Linked DNA regions of Homo sapiens: regions 1, 2, 3, 4, 6 and 7 are each linked to region 5. Evidence: promoter capture Hi-C in 16 types of primary human blood cells and fetal thymus (Javierre and others, 2016). All regions are on one chromosome and are shown on one strand. The core of a region is centred on a gene start or on the middle of the fragment in contact, and the rest is flanking DNA. Distances in the headings are between cores, read along the strand shown. Region 1 overlaps PCM1 (pericentriolar material 1). Region 2 has its middle 5.4 kb from the start of PCM1. Region 3 overlaps ASAH1 (N-acylsphingosine amidohydrolase 1). Region 4 has its middle 4.9 kb from the start of ZDHHC2. Region 5 holds the start of KCTD9 (potassium channel tetramerization domain containing 9). Region 6 holds the start of TTI2 (TELO2 interacting protein 2). Region 7 overlaps CNOT7 (CCR4-NOT transcription complex subunit 7).

Evidence for each region. Contacts are between HindIII fragments. The CHiCAGO score rates a contact against its expected background, and 5 or more counts as called.
Region 1: a contact is called between a fragment that was not itself captured here and the fragment with the promoter of KCTD9 in region 5, in 1 of 17 cell types (total CD4 T cells). The highest score is 8.8, in total CD4 T cells.
Region 2: a fragment that was not itself captured here is called in contact with the fragment with the promoter of KCTD9 in region 5 in 2 of 17 cell types (fetal thymus and total CD4 T cells); the score reaches 5.4 in fetal thymus.
Region 3: a fragment that was not itself captured here is called in contact with the fragment with the promoter of KCTD9 in region 5 in 1 of 17 cell types (activated CD4 T cells); the score reaches 8.7 in activated CD4 T cells.
Region 4: a contact is called between a fragment that was not itself captured here and the fragment with the promoter of KCTD9 in region 5, in 1 of 17 cell types (non-activated CD4 T cells). The highest score is 5.4, in non-activated CD4 T cells.
Region 6: a contact is called between the fragment with the promoter of TTI2 here and the fragment with the promoter of KCTD9 in region 5, in 3 of 17 cell types (naive CD8 T cells, fetal thymus and neutrophils). The highest score is 8.5, in naive CD8 T cells.
Region 7: a contact is called between a fragment that was not itself captured here and the fragment with the promoter of KCTD9 in region 5, in 2 of 17 cell types (activated CD4 T cells and total CD4 T cells). The highest score is 8.9, in activated CD4 T cells.

The regions. Positions count from the first base shown.
Region 1 is chr8:17,941,232-17,943,968 of GRCh38, reverse strand. The region is part of intron 6 of PCM1 (pericentriolar material 1); the gene reads right to left. Among named protein-coding and RNA genes, the nearest start is that of PCM1, 20 kb to the right of the region's middle. The HindIII fragment of the contact is 3,210 bases long and covers 1-2,737 here.
Region 2 is chr8:17,916,252-17,918,965 of GRCh38, reverse strand. No RefSeq gene overlaps it. Among named protein-coding and RNA genes, the nearest start is that of PCM1, 5.4 kb to the left of the region's middle. The HindIII fragment of the contact is 2,365 bases long and covers 218-2,582 here.
Region 3 is chr8:18,077,445-18,080,144 of GRCh38, reverse strand. The region is part of intron 1 of ASAH1 (N-acylsphingosine amidohydrolase 1); the gene reads left to right. Among named protein-coding and RNA genes, the nearest start is that of ASAH1, 5.3 kb to the left of the region's middle. The HindIII fragment of the contact is 4,673 bases long and covers 1-2,700 here.
Region 4 is chr8:17,150,200-17,152,899 of GRCh38, reverse strand. It overlaps the pseudogene RPL9P20. Among named protein-coding and RNA genes, the nearest start is that of ZDHHC2, 4.9 kb to the left of the region's middle. The HindIII fragment of the contact is 224 bases long and covers 1,325-1,548 here.
Region 5 is chr8:25,457,038-25,459,756 of GRCh38, reverse strand. It overlaps KCTD9 (potassium channel tetramerization domain containing 9), which reads left to right and starts at 1,324. Exons shown (of 12, transcript NM_017634.4): 1 at 1,324-1,558. The coding sequence starts at 1,511. It overlaps CDCA2 (cell division cycle associated 2), which reads right to left and starts at 524. Exons shown (of 15, transcript NM_152562.4): 1 at 284-524. RefSeq lists enhancers at 626-855, 2,226-2,275 and silencers at 996-1,205, 1,566-1,615. The HindIII fragment of the contact is 4,823 bases long and covers 1-2,719 here.
Region 6 is chr8:33,511,827-33,514,526 of GRCh38, reverse strand. It overlaps TTI2 (TELO2 interacting protein 2), which reads left to right and starts at 1,392. Exons shown (of 8, transcript NM_001102401.4): 1 at 1,392-1,445; 2 at 1,815-2,560. The coding sequence starts at 1,914. It overlaps SNORD13 (small nucleolar RNA, C/D box 13), which reads right to left and starts at 1,052; the gene lies at 949-1,052. RefSeq lists a silencer at 741-790 and an enhancer at 1,221-1,360. The HindIII fragment of the contact is 19,476 bases long and covers 1-2,700 here.
Region 7 is chr8:17,235,604-17,238,303 of GRCh38, reverse strand. It overlaps CNOT7 (CCR4-NOT transcription complex subunit 7), which reads left to right. Exons shown (of 7, transcript NM_013354.7): 4 at 931-1,092. Among named protein-coding and RNA genes, the nearest start is that of CNOT7, 9.9 kb to the left of the region's middle. The HindIII fragment of the contact is 6,429 bases long and covers 1-2,700 here.

The DNA of each region.
Region 1 (2,737 bases), core at 214-2,713, 7.5 Mb after region 5:
GTGGAATGTGCCCTTGGTAGGCAGCTCTAGAATATCAATCATTTCATATCATGCGTTAAGTCTCAAGGTTGCTTTCAACCTTGAATCGCATGTAAGACCCTCAACTGTGTTTTCCACTATTCTAACAGAATACTACATTTTGAAAAGATTCTAAGGAGGAAACAGGGGTGGGGTGGTAAGAATGACAGTTCCTGCAGAGTAGAGAAAAAAATAAACACAGGTGGTGAGAATTAAGATTTTTTCCCCTGAAGAAATTAAAATGTTTTTACAAATAGAATACTAACAGAACAACGAGACAGCCTTAAGAATCAAGAAAGTCAAAATGAAATAAATGCCAAGAAGAGAATTCAAAAAAGAATAATAATCACTTATAAGGATATTATTCAAAGAAACCTAAAAACAGCAAAGTGGTTTTTAAATTATATGTAATGCCTTAAGAAAAAAAGAACTGGCAGATACTGCATTAACTGTTAACTCTTAAATTTCGCTTGTCACTATTCAGAAGGATTAAAGAGAATAAAATTCCAATGGTTACCTATTATGCTTCATGTTTATTTGCTCTTCTCCAATGCCACTAGTTTTTAAAATAATCAGCTACTTTATTCACTCTACTGGTGAACTGGGGCACATTTTACTTGATATTTGATATAATAAGATTCCCATAACTAATTTCAAACTGTGCTCTCAAATTCTTGTAGGAACCAGAAAAAATAAAAAAACTGCCAAAATACTAGAGGTGAAGTTTTACCATTTGTAAATAGCCACACACACCAAAAAAAAAAAAAAAATACAACAAACCCATAAAATAGCCACAAAATGGGAAAGTGTAGTCCTAGGTAATAAACCAGTAATAAAACATATGAAATTAGTCTTACCTATACTCAATTACTAAAATAGTACTTTGCTCCTGCCAACAGATACATGCACTTTTATAAATGGTATTTTTATTCAAACTCTTTTTTTTTTTTTTTTGAGACAGAGTCTCGTTCTGTCACCCAAGCTGGAGTACAGTGGCAGGATCTCGGCTCGCTGCAACCTCCGCCTCCAGGGTTCAAGCAATTCTCCTGCCTCAGCCTCCTGAGTAGCTGAGATTACAGGTGCATACTACCACACCTGGCTAATTTTTCGTGTATTTTTAGTAAAGACAGGGTTTCACTATGTTGGCCAGACTGGTCTCGATCTCCTGACCTCGTGATCCGCCTGCCTCGGCCTCCCAAAGTGCTGGGATTACAGGCGTGAGCCACCGTGCCCGGCCTATTCAAACTCTTTTTATGTGGAACTACAAATAGTTGTCTTTAACTCTATCTGGAATGCCATTATGCAAATCATGGAAAATTAAAAAACCAATTAAACACTGCAGAAAAAACCAGCAAAAAAAGAGGCAACCAAGTCAACTGGATAATTTTTCTAAAAAAAGCAAATGAAAGGGGTTTCCAAAAATAAAAATATAAACCAAAAAATCTGACAAACTACCATCTAAATTTATTTATTTTTATTTCATTATTTTTTTTTTGAGACGCAGTCTCACTCTGTCACCCATGCTGGAGTGCAGTGGCTCACGGCAACCTACACCTCCTAGGTTGAAGCGATTCTCCTGCCTCAGCCTCCTGAGTAGCTGGGATTACAGGCGTGCGCCACCGTGCCCAGCTAATTTTTGTATTTTTAGTAGAGACAGGGTTTCGCCATGTTGGCCAGGATGGTCCCAAACCCCTGACCTCAGGTGATCCGCCCACCTCAGTCTTCCAAAGTGCTAGAATTACCACGCCTGGCCCCATCTAAATTAATAAACACAAATATCAGAAACAAAGGGCAACTGACTGATGGTCAAGGTTTAAGAACGTGTTATAAATTATACTCGCAATTTATAAAAAAGGGAATAAATTACATTTCAAAACCTTTGTTAATATAAATTAAAAACAGCTGTAAGCTATAATCCATGGAGAGGTATATAACAAAGTAGAAAAAAAACAGTAAGGGACAGAATTTTACTAAAGCAAATTACAGTATGACAACTATATTAACAATTAATATGTAAGAGTAATAGCAACAACAGAAAAGCAAATAAAGAAGAGGAAATATGAACAGAAGAAGTGCTCATTTAGAGACTTCCCAAGTTAATATTGTAAAGTATACCTTTGAGGGAAATCCACGTTTTTGGCTATATTTCCTATTAGGCCTCAGTTCCCTGTCATTCTGAGGTCTGTCACCTTTCCCTTTTGGACTTGTAGTAACGTCAATGTCTGAAACCTGTTCTTGTGAAGCTGAATTCCCTAGTTTGTCCTCAATGCACGGCCGAATTCTCAGACTAAAAGATGCCTCCTCCTTTATTAAATAGTGTAGCATATTAAATTCTTAACACAAACTCCTGTTTAACATATAAGCCAGCCTTGTAAAACAATTTAAAAAGTACCAGTCCACCTTTTTTTTAAAAAAAAAAAAAAACAAAAATCAATCCACATCCCCCTCCAAGCAGCAGTATATTTAGTCTTTTAAGTTTTCTGTAGACTAGACTGTTGCTTACTGTAACTAAGCAAGTACCACATCCTGCGGAATTACCATACCACACAGTTGTTAAAGCACATTTTTAACATTTACTCTGCTACATGTTATTAGTCAACTTTCATACCGTCATTTTATATTATGAAAGAAATTGCCATCACAATGAATACTTTATATAAATTACAATAAATCTATACAAGTTCCCACTCCTCCCCAACAGAATTCCTTTACCCACATC
Region 2 (2,714 bases), core at 151-2,650, 7.5 Mb after region 5:
CAGCCTGGTGACAGAGCAAGACTCTGTCAAAAAAACAAAAAAAAAAAAAAGAACTTAAGATGTTTAAGGACTGCTCCCTGCCACATTTTCTTCAAACTCTTTCCTCTTTGCAGACATAAATACTATCCGGAATTCAATGTTATTGAATTCCTTCATTTTATTCATGTAACTATGGATATCCCTAAATAATATGTTTTATTTTGCTTGTTTTCAAGCTTTATATAAATGATATCATACTGAATGTATTTTTGCTTTACTTGCTTTTTTCATTCAACATTGTGTTTCTGCGACTCATCCATTTTAATGGGTATAAACCCCAAATTTATTAAGAGCAGAACGTAAAATTAATTTTTGAATATTCCTGAAAAATATAACTTGGCTTTCTGGGTAACTTAATGGAAGAAGAGACTGGTCATGCCAAACAAAGGACTAATTGGAGGCCTCTGACCTAGTTCTTACACCTTTTGGTTAAATTGTAGCACGGTTAACTTCTCTACCTTTTAATCTAGCCCAGAGTTTCTTAACCTTGATACTATTGACAGTTTGGGCTGGGTGATTCTTGTTGTGGGGCGGTTCTGTGCGTTCCGGGAGGTTCCGCAACATCCCTGGCCTCTACCCACTGTATACCTAGAGCAAACCCCTGTCCATTGTAAAAACCAAAAATGTCTCCTGACATTGATTGCCAAGCATCCTCGGGAGTTTGGGGAGGGAGATTTTTCTCCCATAACTCTTTTGCTCAAAAACTTAAAAGTTGATGTATATAATCTAATCAACCAGCCATTATATAATTATGTCAACGAATTCTATCAAATCCACATGCGTAAGTAATGTTTCAAGGCTCTTTTTACTTTGCTCTGTTTTCCCCAGATCTAATTATCAGAACATCTCTCATTACTGCCTAGTTTTGATTCTTTATTATTAGATTTGAAAATACCTAATTACTGCCGTCGACATACAATATTAACGTTTGTAACGGTCTGAACTGCCTCTTCCTTCATAACCAATTTATGTTCTTTTCTTTCAAAAATCACTCATTTAATGGATGTAACCTTCGTGATTCTGACAATTTCATCTATAGTTGCATTTCATCAGTTTTCACATGGCTTTACTTCTACAGAGTTGTGATTACTACATGATTCTTCCTGTATTTTTCTTGTATGTATGTTTTTACGTCATCTTCTCTATTCACTGAAAATGTGGTCAAAGCTGCAATCATGTAGTAAAATCTTGAGTAAATTGCTTCCTTCCCAAGACACACCAAGTTGGAGAGGTTTAAACGGAGAGATATGAGTAACCATTTTTTAAAACTACAAGGAAAATAATCCACATCTTTTTCCTTGTTTCCCACCAGCACTATACCAAAACAGTTAAACCAGAACTATGTAACTAGATATATGTTGGTAATTAAGTAGAAAAATTGGATAATTAGGTGAGGGAGTTCCAAAAATATGGAAATATGGGCTGATACAGATTTTGTTTCCTAATTCATAGGAAAAATGTTAGAAAGGCATGAAAATTAAACCTCAGCTTTCACTTTAAAAAAGCTGTTAATCAAAACAAAATGATATGAAATAAGGACTCAAAATTATCATGGTTATAAGGAATAATCTGGAGTGATTTTATAAAAGTTGGTTTCTGGGTCAAATAAGTTTTTATTCACAGAAATAAAGAGATCTGCAGGTGACAACTAGATTTGTAATATGCATCCATACGGACTAGCAGAGGAGTATGTGGCATGATTGGGGTTACAATGATTCATGTTAAATTCACGGCATTATGTAGGAAAGCTACAGCTGTATATATTATAATTTTTTTTTTTTTTGAGACAGAGTCTCGCTCTGTCGCCCACGCTGGAGTGCAGTGGCACGATTTCAGCTCACTACAACCTGCGCCTCCCGGGTTCAAGCCATTCTCCTGCCTCAGCCTCCCAAGTAGCTGGGACTACAGGCACCCGCCACCACGCTTGGCTAATTTTTTGTATTTTTAGCAGAGATGGAGTTTCAACGTGTTAGCCAGGGTGGTCTCGATCTCCTGACCTTGTGATCCACCCACCTTGGCCTTATAATTTTTTATTTTACCGTAAAAAGGCTTCCACATTGCATTTCTCCTTCCATGAGAAAGATCCCAAAGTCAGGGGAGAACTAGCAAAACACACGTGAATTCAGATTAACCAGGTAAGAGAAAATGCCCTCTCCTTACCAGAAGAACTAAATAATTTCCAGGGCTAAAAACCAAGGACGTTGGATGGCAGGCCGGTCTATCCAAGACTCTCCCCAATCTAGATAAGGAAACAAGTAAAACTCTGATAGCGGGTGAAACACACTGGTATAGAGGAGAGGTTTGTGGGTCAAAACAGGGGCTTGGATGTGGGCCGAGGTAGTCGAGGGCCAGCGTACAGTGTGCCTGTTTAAGGATTAACAATATATGCTTTAGAATAGTGCTTTATTAATATAGTCATGAATCATAAGAATAGCTTGTGCTTAGTCCAACAATATAAGAATCAGGCGGTGAGCTTGCTTGACTGACCACAGAGTGGAACAAACAACCGCAGGAAGTGTGCGGAGCCTCTAAGCAAGAAAGCTTGCTTATTGCTCAACCTCCCACTTGAGTCCCTGAACAAAGGTCTCGTGGGAAGGGAAGCGACCCCTGCTCCATTCCCCAGAAGGGAACAGCAGGAGGCTGCTTGTAAAAGAGGAGAAGTCCTCTGCGGTAGA
Region 3 (2,700 bases), core at 103-2,602, 7.4 Mb after region 5:
CCCCATCTGGCCTAGGAATTTATTGCACTTCATCTGCTTTTCCCTACTTCTCCCAAAGAGGGAACACACAGGTGTAATCCATTCACTTATTCAACAAATACTGCTTGCCTACTATGTGCCAGACTCCTAAACGCTGGGAATGCGTCAGCCAATGAGATAGATGAGGTCCTTCCTCTCATGGAGGGTTTATTCACATTCCTTTGACCTAAATATCAGTAGCTTAATAGGATGCCATCCCATCAAAGCCCAGAAGACAAGTGAAAACATTTTCAAGCTCATGTGAATTCTTGTACACGTAGGAAACATGCCTCTTTGTATTCAGTGTTTCTGCTGAGTTGTACATAAGAGGACATTATAGGAAAAACTTGTCTGCAAAATAGTTGTTGATGAATTCAAGAATTGAATGAATGAAAAATTGTCTGGCTAGAGTTGTTTGGCTTCTGGTGGGTATGAAAACTGACATGAGGTATGTAATTTTAGATTATCCTTCATTGTCTCTTTCTGAGTATTTCAATAAGACAAGCACACAAGGGCTTTCTGGACTTTTAAAATTCACTATTAGAAGCATACATTATTTCATTGAGGGTCTCCTAATTCTTTCGGGCTCAAATATTTTAAGGAGCTGTACAAGTTATGCCATTTTTTAAGGGTATGGCGCTTTCATTGAGACCTTAATGTTCTCTTTATATTTTTGTGTTTTTTTTAGAATGTTGTGTTCAGTAGCTCTGTAATTAATTTCTCTTAATGAATGGGGAGGACATTCAAAGAGGCTTAAGTTTCTATCAAATAACCAGAAAAATTAGAGAATTTTCTGACCCAAACAGTCTTTTAAAAGCACTTTCCAGAGAGTTTTTTGTTTTTTTTTTTTTTCTGAGATGGAGTCTTGCTCTGTCTCCCAGGCTGGAGTGCAGTCACACTATCTCGTCTCACTGCAACTTCCACCTCCCGGCTTCAGGCAATTCTCCTACCTCAGCCTTCCGAGTACCTAGGATTACAGGCACATGCCACCCAGCTAATTTTTGCATTGTTAGTAGTAACGGGGATTTCGCCATGTTGGCCAGGCTGGTCTTGAAGTCCTGACCTCAGGTGATCCACCCACCTCAGCCTCCCAAGGTGCTGGAATTACAGGCATGAGCCACCATGCCTGGCCCAGAGAGTTTCAAATGCATTGAAATATCAGATTTTTACCACTTATCTTCACTCTTAGGAGACCACTGAGGGGCAGGGAGAAAGGTAGGGAAGGGCAGGGAGAGAGAGAGAAAGAGAGGTACTGTGGGGAGAGGGTTAGAGAGAATTGATTCTAAGTTGGATTTTGTTTCCTGTGATAGGGTGTACATAGTATACCATCCAGACCACATAATCTCTCTTCTTATCATCTGTTTCTAATCTTTACCTATCATCTATTTAAGTTTTTACCTGCCTTAATAGAGTTGTCTGTTATTAAACTGTTTATAAACTTGGGGATAGTAAGGAACTTTAAATAACATTAAGTAAGTTCATTATAATTCTGTTTTAGGGCTACTCGTGGGTTTTGAAGCTGTGTCTCCCTGTAGAATTCTTTTTTGAGGGGGAGGAAGTAGCTCTTTTTTCCACCCTACCCCTAAAACTAACCTTTTTGCATAAACGACTTAGGCGTTCATGCCATGTGAGCCCCTGAAATACTGTAGTCTCATAGCTGCCAACTTTCTTATTTTCTGTCACACTTATCCTATTTCCTTGCAGCCAGGTTCTATGCCAATTTCACGTTTGTTTATTGCTACCAAGAGTCGTTATCAACCTCAGACTCACTCCACATGTATTGTTGCTAGCTTGCTCTTTAGTTCTTACCTCTGGGGCAGGTCACATTCTCTCCTAATACTAGACAGAGCATTTTCAACTTTGCTCACAGTTGTCTAGTAAGAAATGTGCCTGTAATTTGATGTTTATTTTGGCTTTGGAACCCAGGGCGTGCAAATGTCATTATTAGGAAGGGATAGGAGTCATTACGTTTCACTTAATTTGCCGAGTTGATTCTAGTGATCACCAGAAGCCCTGAACTACGCGCAGATTATTCTGTTAGGAATTAAATTGAGGCATTGGTTTTATTATCTCTGTGGGAAGCTGTTTGATAGAACAGGGAAAGCCATTGACTCTGATTCTGTCACCAGCTGTGTAACTTTCTACAAGTCACTAATGGAGCAGGGTCTTAAGTCCACAACATGATCATAAAATTAAGCACTTGGGTTAAGTACCCATCACAGTATTCCCAACTCATAGGAAAACAATGGTCAGATAAACAAGAAAATGTAAAGCGGAGTATCTCCTCACAGCAGAACTTATTTACAAATTTTACAAAGTAAAATTAAGTTGCAACCCCTATAAGTCTCTAAGTAGCTCATTTATTAGCAAAATAAGGAAAGCCATTTACCAATGGTGGATTACCTAAATTGTATTCGATTGTAGTAGCAGAAGTATTGTGTCCAGGGAAAATGAAATTATTTTACATGTCATTGAGAACCCTTGTCCTGGACTTTGGGAAGAACATCAATATCAATTAAAGAACAAAGCATGTGATTTTTGAGTGATTTTTCTTGACTGTCAACATACCGATAACTGATCAGTTGTTGATATTTATTAGATGATCATTGCCAAGTTTGAAGTGACTGAAGAGTTAGCCTCTGAATCATCTGTATAAAACAACTACAGGCGAGGATGTTTTCG
Region 4 (2,700 bases), core at 187-2,686, 8.3 Mb after region 5:
ACATTCTCTGTGGGAGAAGAATAGCATGCCTAAACCACTTTTTGTTTCTGGAGATACATAAAATAAAAGAAAAGGAATCGCGCTTAGGGAATGTAGGAATGAAGTAATGCTTAGATATGTTTTGGCTGTCAGAGATTTATGTTTGCAATTCAGCTGTAATTATATTGAATAAAATGGGAGATAATTTCAAAAGCCTAAGGATGTCTCTGTATACAGTTGATTGGGTCGAAACACTGGGACAATGTAAAGTGGAGCAAACTGTCCCTGGCAAACCTGCCTTTCAGGCACACTAGGGCTTTCACGGTAGCATTAATGTGTCCTGCCACTAGATGGCAGGCACACACCAAGCAGTGCAGCAGTCTTCACCTTTTCTCCATAGATTTCAATAGTTATCAACTGTTAGCTTAAGCAAGGCAATTATAAATATGAATTATAACTTCATGAACAATTATATATCATTGTAACTAATTATAATTATGTTATAATTGGCCAGGCGCGGTGGCTTACGCCTGTAATCCCAGCACTTTGGGAGGCCAAGGCGGGCAGATCACCTGAGGTCAGGAGTTTGAGAGCTGCCTGGCCAACATGGCGAAACCCCATCTCTACTAAAAATACAAAAAATTAGCTGGGCGTGGTGGCGGGTGCCTGTAATCTCAGCTACTTGGAAGGCTGAGGCAGGAGAACTGCTTGAACCTGGGAGGTGGAGGCTGCAGTGAGCCAAGATCACGCCAATGCACTCCAGCCTGGGCAACAAGAGCAAAACTCCTTCTCAAAACAAAAAGTTATGTTATAATTATACAGTTTTTATATTATAATTTAATGGCTAACGATTAATAAAAACGACAACCCTATTCAAAAAATTTAAAAGACTTAAAGCATTTTTCTATATAGTAAATCGTTCTGATTCTGCGTGCACTTCTTTAGAATTCGCACTAAGGTCAATCTCTTTGGAAATAAAATAGGAAATTTTCATTGAAATAATATTTTTGCTTACACTGTTTCCCTTCTTTGCCCCTAAATGGGGAGGGGCACTGTCTATGAACCCAAAAGGTGAGCAGACATGTCCTTCCAGTGGACTGACACAGCTATACTATGGATCTCTAAGGGGTGATACAATGTCCGAAGTTCAACTGGAGATTATTAGAAGTGGCCGTTGTGGAGTTGAGAGCTGAACAGCCAGCAGAGAGTGACCAAGGGCAGCAGAATTCTGCAGTGTAGTGGCAAGTGTCCAGGGATATTAAGAGCAGCAATGGCATCCTAGGTTGACTGTTCTTGGTGGCAAGATCTTGGCCATGCACCAGCTTCCTTTGTTCCAGCTCAAGCTTGATTCTCCAGGCTTCCTTTTGATTTTGGAGGAGTGCCTATATAACTGCATAACATTTTTTATGTAAGTCAACTAGAGTTGACTTGTGTTTACAACCAAGAACTCTGAATGGCACGTAGTTTTAATTTCATTCTGCATCTCATTGCTTAAAGAGTTAGTTTCAGCTCATGGAGACCAAGGCACCTTGAGAAATAGGGATACAGGAATTTGGGGGTGAAGAAGCTTACTTGGTGCCATTCAAATCACACTCTCTTGACCTGCATTGTTCAATAAGTACCCACTAGTAACATTTGTTGCCACTATTCAAATTTGTTAAAATTAACATGAAATGAAATTGGAAATTCTTAGTTGCAATAGTCACATTTCAAATGCTCAATAGCCACATGTGGCTAGTGGCTACTGCATTGGATGCTGCAGATCTAGAACATTCCATCATTGAAGAAAGTTCTGTTGGACAGAACTGTTTAGACATTTTGTCTTGTCTGAATATTCAAAAGGCTTTATTCTTGTAAATGTAAGAAACAAAAAAGTCCCCTATGTAATAATCCCTTCACTGTTTTATAGAAACAAAAATTAGAGGTAACAGGAAGTTGAAAACAATTTTACGTTTTGGTACTAGGAAATTTCTTCCTTTGAAGAGGAATCCAAAGAGTAAAGAACCACCTTTTCGCTGTGTCTACTGTGAGAATGAAAACCATTCTCTGCAACCAGACTGTCCATATTCCAGAAAATGTAGATATCACTTTGAAGGGATACCCAGTAATTGCGAAAGGCCCTAGAGGAACCCTGTGGATGGACTTCAATCACATCAATGTAGACCTCAGTCTCCTTGGAAAGAAAAAAAATGAGGCTCCGGCACTGACAAAAAATGGTGGGGAAACAGAAAGGAACTGGCTGCCGTTTGCACTATTTGTAGTCATGCACAGGACATGGTCAAGGATGTTGTGCTGGGCTTCCGCTGCAAGATGAGCTCTGTGTGTACTCACTTCTCCATCAATGTCGTTATCCGGAAGAATAGGTCTCTGGTTGAGTTCTGAAATTTCCTCGGTGAAAAATAAATCCACAGGGTTTGGCAGTGGCCAGGTGTTGCTTGTTCAGTATCTCAAGCCCAGAAAGATGAATTAACCCTTGTAGGAAATGACATTGATCTTGTTGCAAATTCAGCTGCTTTGATTCAGCCAGCCACGACAATTAAATAAAAACAAGGATATCAGAAAATGTGTGGATGGTATTTACGTCTCTGAAAAAGGAACAGTTAAGCAGGCTGCTGAATAAGACCTAAGAGTAGTCCAGGTACAGAAACAAGATGCCGGATGATTCCTAAGACCTATTTGTGATATTTAAATGATGCAATAAAAGACCTATTGATTTGGGGG
Region 5 (2,719 bases), core at 75-2,574:
AACAGAAAGAAATGGAGAAAACTGCTGTTCAGGCACCAAAGCAGACCCCAAAGGATAAGCCATGGCTTTTCAACCGTAGCGAAAACCTGAATCATAAGGGTACCCCTCTCAAGACGCAGCTCTATCCATTTCCAGAAATTCTCTCAACAGGTCCGGATGCACTCCTGGTCACCCAGAGCAGCTCCTGACAGGAGTACTAATTCTGTGCTGCAGGGTAAGCCGAACAAAGTGCCTAGAAATGCCCCGGAGAAACAGCCCCGTGGCAGCGCGGATGCAATCCTACCTCTCACGCCGCACCTGAAGGCCCGCCAGGCAGACAGGCTTACTCCCAGAGCCCCGTGGCAGGCGAGCGTCGCGTCGGCCGCTCCTTCCAGACCCCGGCTCCTCTGTCCGGAAGGGCTCTCCTGGCAAAGCACCCGCAGCCGGGAGCCGCTCTTCGAACCCGGAGCCCGAGGTCCCGACGGCTGACCTGGACTCACAGCCTGCGCTGATCCTGGCCTGCGCTCTGCCCGGCAGCCTCCTCCACCCGCCTCCTCCGCCCGCCGACCGATTCAAATCCCCGACCCCGCCCCTCGGTACCGAATTTACTCTACGAATCACTCCGCCACCTCCCCCTTCTCCAGTCCGCGCACACTCCGAGCGCTCCCAGGCCTCTCCCTCGGCACTGGAGTGGCTTCCTGGGCTCGGAGAGGGACCACCGCGAGCTGCAGTCAACCCGAGGACTACAGACACCTGCCACTGCCTTGTGACCTCGGGGACTACTTTTCAGGAGAGTCTCGCGGAGTAACGCTTCTCTTAGCGCTTTAACTCCGCCTCCCACCTTTCTATTGGATGCTGCAAACTTCGAAAAGACTCATTCAACCAATCCTAACAGAGCGACGAGCTGGCTCTTACCCAATCAGTCCGTCCCTACCGCAGCCGTTTCCTAGCTGGGCCGGCTTGTGGGCGGGGCTAACGCTGGAGGAGGGGCTGACTGGTGCTTGGGTCCCTTTCAGCGCTCCACCTCCTTTCCCCAGACCCCGCCCTCGTATGCAGATAAGCGCTACCTAAACTAGAGGGTGCGCCTGCTCAGTAACGCTGGAAGCCGCCGTCCGGCTCCAGGAGCCTCTCTGATTGGCTGATGCCCCTTCCCGTCTACTAGCCTTCAGCGTCTCTTCCCTCCCTCCGTCCCGGCTAGGTTAGCCAGAGCCCGCCCGATACTGGGTGCTGATTGGCTGGACTCTGTCCGGTGACGCGGGTTGGTTGGTACGGCAGAGTGTCAGTCTCGGAGAGGTGGGGGAAGGGCCCCAGGCAGGCTGAGGAGCCTAGGGGCGGGGTGGGAAGGAGGACCGGCCGAACCTTGGGTGTGGGACAGAGTGCGTGCGTGTGGTGTGTCCCCAAGGGCAGGAAGGTGGCGAAGGGAGGCGAATCCGAGTGGGTGGAGGGAGGGGAAGGGCGGGAGGAGAAAAAGGTGGGAGGAGGACCAGGTGGGAGGGTGGCGGCTCACTCAGGACCCAGCGGGGGCAGCGCGATGAGGCGGGTGACCCTGTTCCTGAACGGCAGCCCCAAGAACGGAAAGGTAACGGGGGCGTGAGGGGGCGCGGCGGGCCGGGGGTCGGGGCGAGGGCGGACGGTGCGGAACCGGCTGGCGGGGCAGCGGTGAAGTTGGGTAGAGGGGCTGGGAGGTGGGCGTGCGCGGGCTGGGGGCGCTCGGGGACAGCACAGGGTCCCCGCGGCCTCCTCCCGACCCTCAGGACCCCCGTGCCCGAGCCTGCCCTTCAGTGCCTCAGCTGCCTGGGGGCCGGCGCGGTTCGGCCCGGGGGCTCCGGGTCTCCCGGATGCTTGGTGCGGGGGGCGCGGGGACGGGGGCGCGGGGAGGGCCGCGGTCACCTGGGCGCCCGGGCGGTCGCGCCTCTTCCCGCCTCTCCCCGAGACCCCGCTCCCGCCTGCGGGAGGAGGCGCGCCGGCTCCGGTGCTGAGTAATGATCTGCTCGGAAAGTGGCGGCGAGCACCAGAGCCTGTGGAGATGGGTCAGGGAGACAGAAGTAAACTGCCCGTGGATAAACAAAATCTCCCATCCGAGGTCGCAGACAGGATTTTTAAAATGGGGGCATTTTCTTGTTGATTTTTGCCCTCCTCTCTGAGATGCCTCAAGCCCCCACGCCCCGCCGCCGCCAAACTTCTCTGTACTCTTTTTATTATTTTGCCTTATTTTGATTCCCTAGAGGACGGGTACAGCAGACCCAAAAGGGATCGATTTGACAGTCGCCTTTGCTGTGTTAGGCCTTTGCGGAGAGTGTGGTGCTCAGTGTTCTTCCAGCGCTGGAGCAAGCCAAAACGAATTCTCTTCCTTCCCAGCCTTTTGCCCCACCCATGAAAGTTGTTCTGCTCCTTTGGGAAATTTTCACTGTTCGAGGCAGACATTTATTGCGTTGCTAAATGATACCTAGAAGTAACTCAGCCTTTACGAGTCTAAGGTAAAGGTAAATGGGTCTCGCTGTGTTGGTTGCCAAAATACTCTGCTGCCTGCACATTCGGGGAACACTGTAAATTTTTAAATAGTGAAATTGTCCAGTGGCATTAAAAATGGCTTTCCGATTATTCAGTGTAGAGTAAACATGCTCCGAAAATTCGAACCAGAGTGTGGTTTGTTGGCTATAATTTTATGTTCTTTTGGTCTTAGAGATTTAATACTCATTTAAAATCAGAATTCGTATAAATTCGAGTTCTTGAGTTATCA
Region 6 (2,700 bases), core at 143-2,642, 8.1 Mb before region 5:
CGCCGAGCCCGAGTCTGCAGCCTCCAGCTCCCCTGGCCCGTTCCGGGCGCCGCCTGCGACCCATGCCCAAGACAGCGCTCTGCTGTCCCTGCGCACCCGGCGCCGACACTGGCGGGGCGGGCCCAAGCCGGATCCGCCAACCCGACGACCCACCTCCCTCAGGGCTGCCCCAGACGCCAGCTGGGGGCTTCTACCTTGACGCTAGAATTTGAATTTTCAAACGCTTGTGGCTACAGGCTTTAAAACGCTAGCTCCAGAAACCAGCTAAAGTATTGCATTGAACAGAAAACCAAATACCGCATGCTCTCATTCATAAGTGGGAGCTAAACATTAGGAACACGTGGACATAAAAGTGGCAACAACAGACACTGTGGTCTACTAGAGGGGGCAATGAAAACGGGCTAAGCTGCACTCCAAATCCCAGCATCCCACAACATATCCAGGTAACAAACCTGCGCAGGTATCTCCCAAACCTAAAAAATTAAAGCCATTAAAAAGCTCTGCATTGGCCAGGCGCGGTGGCTCACGCCTGTAATCCCAGCCCTTTGGGAGGCCGAGGCGGGCGCATCACGAGGTCAAGAGATCGAGACCATCCTTGCCAATATTTATACAAAAATTAGCTGGGCGTGGTGGCGCGCGCCTATAGTCCCAGCTACTCGGGAGGCTGAGGTAGGACAATCTCTCGAAAACCGGAGGTGGGGGTTGCAGTGAGCCGAGATCGCAACACTGCAACTCCAGCCTGGCGACAACGCGAGACTCCGACTCACAAAAGAACAAACACAAAAACACATTACACAGTTGGACAACGGAAAAGCACCCGTGCGTGTAGCATACAGCCAGAAAAAAGGGCACCCGAAAACGGTAAACACAAAGCCATGAAACTAGGCCACCTGTTATCATAAGTAACAAGCCCACAAATACAAGTGTTAAATCGATCCTTGAAGTTCAGGTCAGACGGGTAATGTGCCCACGTCGTAACAAGGTTCAAGGGTGGCACATCTCACACAAGCGTATGAACACCCAATCATCACGCTCATGAACTACAAAAGGATCATCTTATAGTTGACATTAAGGAGTGCCAAGTATGTGCCACTAATTTACACATAGGGTGACTACCGTAATGCGATACATCCATTCTTCACGTATAAAATCCTGGATATTTTCAAAGTCCCACTGAGATTCTGTGATTATTCTTTTGTTTCTACCTTAGCAAAGGAAAACAGAAACACAATTAGCGAGCGGATTATTATATATGCAAATTTATTCTCTATAGTTCCACCTCTCCGTCATTTTCCCGAGCCTGGATCTTTATTGCTTTACGACCATACGTCGTGAAATAAGAAGGTGTTGCGGCAGTACTGGCGGAAGCTAGCCTTGCGTTTTGCGGCAGCAATATGAGCTAGGTCCGGATCCTGTTAGACACCGGCGGGCGCGAGCCGTTGCAGGTACCTGGGGGTGGTTAAGTTGGTGACATGGCTCAGAAGTTTATTTCTTTAAATTTTTAAGTTTTTTTTCTTTTTAGTCTTCAGAAAGGCAACAGTAGTCTTTTAACGTCACTGTTAAAAGTGTAAGACTCTTTTACTCCCTGAGAGTCCCCTTTCCCTTTCTTGCGTCCTTTCCTCTTTATTCTTTTTTTTTTTTTTTTTTTTACTGAGACGGAGTCTCACTCTGTCGCCCAGGCTGGAGTGCAGTGGCGCGATCTCGGCTCACTGCAAACTCCGCCTCCCGGGTTCACCCTTTCTCTTTATTCTTATCCCGGTCAGACTCGCCCCCTCCTCCAAGACATCTCTCTGTTTTATTTTATTTGATTTTAGTTCTCTTTGGGTGATCGCTCCTTCCCTCTTCAACGGATCCCTCCCCGCCTCCATCCTCGTTCTGTGGGAGAGACCAGCCTTCTGGTGCTGCAGTCAGGAATGGAGCTTGACAGCGCTCTGGAAGCCCCATCGCAGGAAGACTCTAATTTGTCCGAGGAGTTGTCTCACTCCGCCTTTGGACAGGCCTTCTCCAAGATTTTACACTGTCTTGCCCGCCCGGAGGCACGACGAGGCAATGTAAAAGATGCAGTTCTTAAAGACCTCGGTGATCTAATAGAAGCCACAGAATTTGATAGGTTATTTGAGGGGACTGGTGCACGGCTCCGCGGAATGCCGGAGACACTGGGGCAGGTAGCAAAAGCCCTGGAGAAGTATGCAGCCCCCTCCAAGGAGGAGGAAGGTGGAGGTGATGGGCACTCCGAAGCGGCCGAGAAAGCAGCCCAAGTTGGGTTACTGTTTCTTAAACTGTTAGGGAAAGTTGAGACTGCTAAGAATTCCCTGGTCGGCCCTGCATGGCAGACGGGCCTGCATCACTTGGCAGGACCCGTTTATATTTTTGCCATCACACACAGCTTGGAGCAACCATGGACCACTCCGAGATCTCGGGAAGTTGCTAGGGAGGTGCTCACCTCACTGCTTCAAGTTACTGAATGCGGTTCTGTGGCAGGATTCCTACATGGAGAAAATGAAGATGAGAAAGGGAGACTTTCGGTGATACTAGGGCTTCTCAAACCCGACTTGTATAAGTGAGTACTCCTGCCCTTTGCCACCGACTTGAGCCTCACAGTTTTTTATTTTTATTTTTTATTATTTATTTATTTTCGAGACAGAGTTTCACTCTTGTTGCCCAGGGTGGAGTGCAATGTTGCGATCTCAGCTCACTGCA
Region 7 (2,700 bases), core at 15-2,514, 8.2 Mb after region 5:
GATTTGTCAAGTGTTTAATAGGAATTCCTTTTGCCAAGAGGTAGAAACCAGTATTCTTACAATTTAAAAAGTAAATAAAAAAACACTTTTTCACGTATTCTCAAAAATGTATCTGTATTTTGGTAACTTTTTTGTTTTAATATTTCAGATACAGATATATTTTGGAAACTTTTAATATTTCAGATACACATATTTGTGGTTGGAAATATATTTGAGGTTGGAGATGGCTTTCTTTTTGGCTTAAGTGAAATCTTGAAGAATTGGTTTATATTTAGATTTCCTGGCTTGATTTTATAAGGCAGTCTTTTAGGAATAGGATTGTTGGCAGAAGAAATTATTGCTATTACAGTACAGTCCTTTATACAGTGTTGCTTATTGGAGGCATTTGCAAGGCTCATTTGTGAAAGGAGGCATCTCCTTCTTTAAGATGAAGTGTAGTTTAACTCATCCGCATGAGACATTTTCCACTGGGTCTCCTTACTGGTGCTGCTGAGAGCACGGGAGATGGGCATATGCCCCACAGCTATGGCTGCAGCTCCATCTGGGAGCATTACAGTGGCTGCTGAGACTGAGAGTCTCTGAAAAAACTTGTCTGTCACTTTGCGACGGTAGCCCCTGGTGAATAGGAGACCCTTTTCCAAACCCAGTTAAATGTATTTAAGTATGAAAGGCTAATAGAGTTAATAGAAAAAAGATTAAAATTGCACCTTTGGACTCTCTGAATGATTTTTTATTCGAAACACTTTTCTGAAATAATGACCTTTGTATTTAAATTGCATTTTTCTTGCATATATATAAAGCATTGAAACAGGTGGACTCAAGCCATTCCTCTGTCTCTTTTCTGGCACTGTAGTTATAGATGTAAGCAGAAGAACAGCTTGTTTGAAGTAATGGCATGTTTGAATGTTGTCTTTCTCTTTCTTCTGCCAGGGAGGACATGTATGCCCAGGACTCTATAGAGCTACTAACAACATCTGGTATCCAGTTTAAAAAACATGAGGAGGAAGGAATTGAAACCCAGTACTTTGCAGAACTTCTTATGACTTCTGGAGTGGTCCTCTGTGAAGGGGTCAAATGGTTGTCATTTCATAGGTAAAACGACTACATTGAAAATGGCATTTGTTTTTCCATCTCATACTTGCTCCACACTTACTTGGGTCACTATGTTAGCAATTTCAGGTTTAATTCTGGAAAGAGTTGACTGCCATATAGAGTTGTCTCCTAACTCTTAGGAGGCTAATGTTGGTCTGCTTAAAGGTTAATTTAAAATATGGGATCCATTTTTGCCTGTGAGAAGCATGTTGCATAGTGGAAACAGTACAGGTTCTCTAAAAAGTGAAAGACCCTGGTTTAAATCCAGCGGCGCCATTTGGAATTGGTGTTACCCAGGGTTTTCTTTTACTATTTCTACACCTTAGTTTTTAATGTTCTACGGGGGAAACCATTCACTTACATTTACACAACGTTATTGAGTATTTACCATATGGCAGGCACTGAGATGAGATTCTAGGAACTAAGGTGTGAATAAAACAGATGAAAATTATTTTCCTCATGGAGTTTATATTCTCATGGGGGTGGGCAGACAGTTTTTAAAAATGGAGTTCACGTTGTGATTTGTTAGATAGTGATAAGTACTATCTCAAAACAGCAAAGAAAATGCTAGGGATGGGTGTGGAGATGGATTTTAATTTTTTTTTAAAGTGATAAGGCATCCCTTAGAAGAAATAGCTTGAAGACTTGTTTTAATGGTCACCAAAATACTTTATAAACAGTAAATTCTCAATAAGTGGTGGTTCTAAATTCTTTATTGTTATGAAACTAGATTATTTAAGAGTGTTTCTGGTAAGGAAACTATTCCGATTTTGTGAAATAGACTTCCAGGTATGAAAAAGAGTTTTCCCATCTAAGTAAACTAAACTGACGTTCCAGGGACTAAAAGTAACCTTCAGAATGATATTGGCTTTTGTTAGGTTTTGAAAAAGCATTGTGTTACATAGATGTTAATACTCTCATACTTGGTCCACTTCACACATGTATCTTAAATCTGAGTCTCCTGCATGTTTAGTTTCTGTCTCTGATCTGTGGGATGTTTATAGTGAAGGACTGTTCATGTGGGCAACTTTGATGTGTACTAACCAGAAATGGTTGAGTTGTAGGTACTGAACACACTCATTCTTACCTATCATCTTTTTTGTCTCTTCTGCACTTGAACTTGTACCTTAGGAAACATAACTTAAGACTCTTGATACAAATACCTTTTTTTTAGTCATTTTTCTTCCCTAGATATGAAGGTGCAAAAGAACTGGAAAGTATTGCCCTTCCCTTTTACTGTATATGACATACCCTTTCATTTAAAAAATACTCTGACAAAATACAGTGCACTAGGCACTGGGTATTAAGATGAACAAAAACAAACAGGGTTCATTCATGTCTTCTTGGAGTTTAGAATCTAAGTTAGACTGATATATTTGAATATTTATCAAGATAGAAGATTTTATTCCATTAAATATCATTAGTTGTTTTCCTCATATTCTAATTTCAAGTAATGAAGAATAGTTTAAGAAGTTTATAAATCCTAAGCGCTAATATAATCTTTTAATGTTAGTGAGCAAATGTCATATAGGCTTCCTGTTAGAGGTCCTTGGAAGGAAAGGTAGACAAGGGACGGACGTGTCTAAGTGGCCTGGGAGTGTAGGGAGA